Regions from separate parts of the Homo sapiens genome. Here region 1 is linked to region 2. Evidence: promoter capture Hi-C in 16 types of primary human blood cells and fetal thymus (Javierre and others, 2016). All regions are on one chromosome and are shown on one strand. Each heading gives the region's core, a stretch centred on a gene start or on the middle of the fragment in contact. The rest is flanking DNA. Distances are from core to core; before and after follow the strand shown. Region 1 overlaps ACBD6 (acyl-CoA binding domain containing 6). Region 2 holds the start of LHX4-AS1 (LHX4 antisense RNA 1).

The links. Contacts are between HindIII fragments. The CHiCAGO score rates a contact against its expected background, and 5 or more counts as called.
Region 1: a contact is called between a fragment that was not itself captured here and the fragment with the promoter of LHX4-AS1 in region 2, in 7 of 17 cell types (endothelial precursors, monocytes, M2 macrophages and 4 more). The highest score is 9.0, in endothelial precursors.

The regions. Positions count from the first base shown.
Region 1 is chr1:180,475,754-180,478,682 of GRCh38, forward strand. The region is part of intron 3 of ACBD6 (acyl-CoA binding domain containing 6); the gene reads right to left. Among named protein-coding and RNA genes, the nearest start is that of ACBD6, 25 kb to the right of the region's middle. The HindIII fragment of the contact is 1,459 bases long and covers 596-2,054 here.
Region 2 is chr1:180,273,286-180,276,663 of GRCh38, forward strand. LHX4-AS1 (LHX4 antisense RNA 1) reads right to left here and starts at 1,396. Exons shown (of 5, transcript NR_037642.1): 1 at 1,366-1,396; 2 at 652-827; 3 at 53-113. LHX4 (LIM homeobox 4) reads left to right here. Exons shown (of 6, transcript NM_033343.4): 6 at 900-3,378. The coding sequence ends at 1,294. It also overlaps a transcript of ACBD6 not described here. The HindIII fragment of the contact is 1,811 bases long and covers 513-2,323 here.

The DNA.
Region 1 (2,929 bases), core at 75-2,574, 200 kb after region 2:
TTGATGGAAATTTTGGTTTCCAGTTTGGGGTTATTATAAATAAAGCGACTATGAACATTCATGTAAAAAAATAAAGTAAAATGACCTAGTGTTTACCATATGATGGAAAATGCTATAACACCTAGAAAGAGTTGGTGGGGCACTTTTCATTTTCCCTTTTACTTAAATCAACAACATGGATTATTAAGAGTTTCACTAAATTTGTTATTGAATATATTAAAATTCAACCTAAGGAAAAACGGGACAACTGGAAGATAACATTTATCATGTCTAGGCACTCAGGTATATATTATGGCTAGGGGAAAATAGCAAAACAAACAACTATCACATACCAAAATCTGAATCTGGTTCCAATGCAACCCAATCCCACCAATACCAATGAAAAGACTAGAAGTTTATCCCCAGGTAAAATCATTTGAGATCTCTGATGCAAAACTATGGTGTTATTTAAAGATGGAATGTGAAGCCAAAAAGCATTCACACGTTCTGTTTAAGTTATATTATTAACTCATTTATGCCGGAGGTTGAAAATTTTTTTTGTGAAAATCAGACCTTGGCAATGACCTTGAGCAGTAGGATGTAAATAACTCCCACAAGCTTTGCATTCCAATAATGGAACACTAGGCATAAATGGGTTAAATTTTTTTTTTTTAAAAAAAGAATGAAGTTGTCACTCAAAGGTTTTTGCCTATGCACACATATAGGCTAATACAATGCTTCTTTTCCTCAACTGACAAGTATCACAAAAGAAAATTTAAAAGTACAATTGGCAAATAAAACAAGAAAACTCAGCCGGGCACAGTGGCTCACGCCTATAATCCCAGCACTTTGGAAGGCCAAGGCAGGCGGATCACCTGAGGTCGGGAGTTTGAGACCAGCCTGGTCAACATGGTGAAACCCCGTCTCTACGAAAAATACAAAAATGAGCCGGGCGTGGTGGCGGGCACCTGTAATCCCAGCTACTCGGGAGGCTGAGGCAGGAGAATTGCTTGAACCCGGGAGACAGAGGTTGCAGTGAGCTGAGATCATGCCATTGCGCTCAGCCTGGGCAACAGAGTGAGACTCTGTCTCAAAAAAAGCACAAAAAACAAAAACAAACAAAAAAAACAAGAAAACTCAAAAACAACACAAGTACATGGATGGAAGAAATGTGAAAATATCCAATGAATATATCAGATTATATATCTATTAACCAGTTCCCCTCTGAAGCTAACCAAAACATTACACAATATAATGCTTTGTATAACATTATACCCCCTTATCCATGGGGTATGTATTCTAAGACCCCTAGTAGATGCCTGAAACTGTAGACACTACAGAGCCCTATATACACTATGTTTTTTCCTATACAGGAACAGGTAATGGATACATCTTGACAAAGGGATGTATGGAGTGGGACAGGAGAGATTTTATCACAACAGGGCATGCAATTTAAAACTTATCAATTGGTTACTTCTGGAATTTTCCACTTAATATTTTTGGACCACCGTTGACCTCAGGTGACTGAAACCCCTCAGAAAGCAAAACTATAGATCAGGGAGGACTGCTATACATTTTTAAACCACAAACAGGGACCACTAACAAACACATACACACATATAAGAGCATACACACAAGCATTAAGAATCCTACAGTTCCTAAATATTGCATAACTCTTTATAAAGTCAGTAGGATAGACCATTAAATGTTTTTAATAACACACCATGCTTTTCTGTACTGAAAATTACCTCTATATGGAGGTTAATAAATTTGGCCCAAAATATAATCAATCTCTGTTCCTAGTAACAAAACATGTCATAATAGAGTTTATCATTAGAACGAATTTTTTTTTCAGTAGAAAAAATAATCTCCTTATAATTTAAAAAACAGATAAAATGCAGTTCTAGTTCTTAATTCCCAACTAATACACACAGGTTACTTTTTTACTAAAATAAGTCAGAAATGTTTTATTAAAATCAGGAAAGAAACTATTTCTAGATTATTTCTTTTAGCTATAGCTTTAACATCATAATTCAATTAATCTACTAAAATGTGTAACTGTTGTATCTGCAAAAAGCTTATTCTGCTCTAATGCACAAATAAGAAGTCTTAAAAAAGTCTTCTGCAAGCTGGGCAAGGCAGTGTGCACCTGTAGTCCCAGCTACTTGGAAGGATGAGGCAGGAGGATAACTTGAGCCCAGGAGTTCAGGTCTAGCCTAGGCAACATAGTGAGACTCCATCTCTTTAAAAAAAAAAAATTCTTTTGCAAAAGAAAATTTTAGTTGCACAGGATACTAATTTTCTCTAAATTTTCTAATAAATTTAGATCACCATATGATGCTTATTTTTCTTAACTTACATGGATTGAATAAGAAAACAAAGTCATTTTTAATTCTAATCTATTATCCCAAAAGTACATCATTTTGGGATGTAAAGATAATAAGATTATCTTTATTGAAATTATTATAATTTTACATTAAAATGTATTTTTATTTATTAAGTACAGCTAAAAAATAATTTCTAATCTTATAGTTTTTATTGTGTGTCTATTAGAGAAATACACAAAATAAGCATAATTGAAGTGTATTTAGTTTCACAGAAAAATCAGTAACTTTAAACTGTGAAACACTGCCCTCTATAGTCCACTGAATTAAACAACAATTCAATTTATAATACTTAGAACAATACAACCTAGACAAGGAATTTTGGACTTTCTGCCTCGTTCCTGAAGCAAAATTTTCCCGCTCTATAAATCTCTCTTTTTTTTTTTTTTTGAGACGGAGTCATGCTGTGTCGCCCAGGCTGGAGTGCAATGGCACAATCTCGGCTCACTGCAACCTCTGCCTCCCAGGTTCAAGCAATTCTCCTGCCTCAGCCTCCCAAGTAGCTGGGATTACAGTACCACCATTGCTGGCTAATTTTTGTATTTTTAGTAGAGACGGGGTTTCAC
Region 2 (3,378 bases), core at 146-2,645:
AGAACACAGGGCCCGTGAGGCCTTGGGGACAGCTCATGGGACTAATACTCACCTTTTAGGCTTCTTGGCAGGATTGGGAAAGTCAATCTCATCTGGGCTGTTGAAGTCAACACCTAGAACATACTGGATTGTTAAGCTCATTTCTGTTGGGTGCAGGTGGGTCCCTGGGCTGACCTATCATTGGTTTCTCTGGGAATAATTTCTCAAAGACTAAAACTGCTCACCTCTGTTGGAGAGAGAAATTCTTTCAAGTGGCAAAGATTCCATTAGATCCCCTTAATGAAATTCTTTAAGAAAAAAGAAGGTTCATTTGCCTTAATCAAGTCAATTCTTTGTCCCCAGTGAAGAGCTTATTGAATACAGACAGAAACCAAGTCCTTTGATATTGAACCTCTCTTCCAGATAGACCAGAAGGATTTTGTACAGATGTCTAAGAGTGGTCCTCAGCTTCCCTGACCATATGGGCCTGCTTGCTTCCCAATCAACTAAACCAAGCCCTTTCTCAGCTTGAAAGCTTTCAGGGTAAATGTTGTCAGCATGTAGTTTCCATTTGTGATGTGGAGACATCTGACCCACCCAGCCTTAGGCATTCATCCTCCTCAGTGTAGCCAGAGTATTAGTACACGAGCCACAAGGGACCAACGAGCTCACCAAACATTTGTCCATCCTTCTGGGACCTGGGAATTTAGTCTTTGCAGGTGTTTCTTGTTTTTCTCCTTGGCCTGGGTTGGCCTCTGGATATCAGGCTGCCATATTGGTGTGTCTGACCCATGCTTGGCTGCAAGGCAGCTGCCATCCTTGGGCATCTTTCCTGGTCATGTGTGTTCCTAGGTTGTGAAGAGCAGGGGACCATCAGAGTCCTGGCAGCTGACAATAAATCTCCGTTCTTTTGTCCACAGAGGATCAAATTCTCTCAGAACTTGGCCACACCAATAGGATTTATGGCAACGTGGGGGACGTTACAGGCGGACAGTTAATGAATGGGAGCTTCTCCATGGACGGGACAGGACAATCCTATCAGGACTTGAGGGATGGGAGCCCCTATGGAATCCCCCAGTCTCCATCCTCCATATCGTCCCTGCCATCCCACGCTCCTTTGCTCAATGGGCTGGATTACACGGTGGACAGTAATTTGGGCATCATTGCGCATGCAGGGCAGGGAGTAAGCCAGACGCTGAGAGCCATGGCTGGGGGACCCACCTCTGACATCTCCACAGGAAGCAGTGTAGGCTATCCCGACTTTCCAACTAGCCCAGGCTCTTGGCTCGATGAAATGGATCATCCTCCTTTTTAAACTTCTCTCCTCCCCACCCTACCTGCCCCCCTGGCTTGAGAGAATATCTTCAAGGATCAAAAGAGACTTGCCTTTTAAGGATCGAAAGTACGCCAATGTGAATTTCCATTATTTTCAATGGAAGTCCTCCGCTGATTCCTAGAAGGCTGTGAGACCACACTAGGGCATTGTTTCCCTGGGGAAGCAGTGGGAGAGCAGACTCATCTCAGAACACAGCACAGGGGGTAATGGCCTAGAGCTCTAGGGACACTGGCTTGTTGGGTCTCTCCCCTGCTGTTCTGCTTAGGGGCTTGGCTGCTCAGTGCTTTGGTAGCACAAGGTGACTGTGATAGGCCCCCTTGGCCTTTGGGAACTTTGCTCCAACTGGTGTGTCTCACACAATGCCTCCCAAAACACTGCTCTCACCAGAACTGAGACTCCTAAGGTAGAGGCCTCACAGCCCTTGAGTAAAATAAAAGTGATTTCTGGACCATCCTTATTGAACCCTATATTTCAAAATGAAAAGATCAGTTATTAAAGGTCAGTGAACACTTTGATGGCCAGTTTGATATTAAAAACATGCCCCCTCCTTTTTTATTTTTGCTGTGAAGATATGAATTCTTTCCTACAAACCAGAGAATATGAACCTGTTTTGGTTTTTAAGTGTCCCATCTATATCATTGACTCTGATGGCAAGAGGTGGTTTTCATTGCAGGTGACTGAGGCTGAGCTGAGTAGCCCTGGACCACCGCTGCAGATTGCCTGAGTCGTCCCCTTGGTGCACAGTGTGCCTTCTTCAATTGCTTGTATCATTTATTCCACAAGACAGGCTGTGGGCTGTAAAATGAGCAAAACTAAAATGTGGGGAGAACAAAATGACAATCAATCAGTGAACATTTGTAGACACATTTGGATTCCAAACCTGCAGTCTGTTCAGCCATATCGGCTGATGCCAGTCTTCCAGAGTTCCCCATCCCTTGTAGGGTGAAATATTTGGAGTCTGTTTTGAAGGAGTTGGTTTAGATGAGCTTGCAAGTCTACCCCTCTGAAAGCTTTCTCTGCTGTCCTAGCTGACTCAATTGGAGGACAGTTTTGGTCATTTCCAGGAACCAGCAATTTTTTTTTGGCCTACCTTGGTTGGGAAGAGTAATTTAGGGAGCAGCCCTAAAATTGTCCAAAGGGTTCTAAGTGGTTCTTGGGCTGCATCTCTCTGGATTGCTGGCTGGACACCTGCCATGCCTTGGGCTGCAGTCCCATGGTCAGAAAGCCAGAACTCTCTGGCCAGTGGTGGTGCAGGGACTCCCCGTTGTGCAGGTTTGCAGTAGCAAATCACTAAGCCTGAGGCCAGAGCAAGGCCAACCCCCGCTTTACGAGTTGCCACTCCTGCGACAGACTGCACTGCTGTGGGAAACGCTGTCCTGAATGGTGCTGCAGCTCCCACCCACCTTGTGCACCCATCTACCATCAGGAAGCTCTCCATGTGCAAACTGGAATTTAGCCAGCTGGAATTTATTCCTGTCCCTCTGGGAAGCTGTGTTTGCTTCTTCTGGCCTCCCATTCTCTTAAATGAGATCAGCAGAGTAGGAAAGGGTGAGAAGGCATTGCCTATCACATGAAGTGATGGGGCCAGAGACCCTAAGGACCCTTCCTTCTACGAATGGTTGGTCACCTTTTGAGGACTGCAAAGACTTAGGCATGTCATAGGCAGACTAAAGGAAGAATACACAGTTCCTCTTGGACTGCTACATCTTTTGTAAGCCCTTTTCCAGGACTAAACTAAGTTCAATTAAGTAAGTTCTTTAAAACAGTAAATTCCGGGATCAGCCTTCGGGCCCTCTTCTCTGACCAATTTTATAGCGTACCCTCGTTTTTTGGTGTGCTGCAGTGGTCATGATTTTTGCTTGAGAAGTCTGCAAACATAGACACTTCTCTTGAGGTTCCATGTTTATGGATGATGTTGTGTTAATCCTAGCCAATTCTGTGCTATTGGGAATTCTCCAATCATGAACACTGGGGTGGGGAGGAAGACACAAATGCCATGTGAGGAAAGGAAAATGCAGTCGTCTTTTTGGAGGATGGCTTTTTAAATACACCCTTCTTAGCAG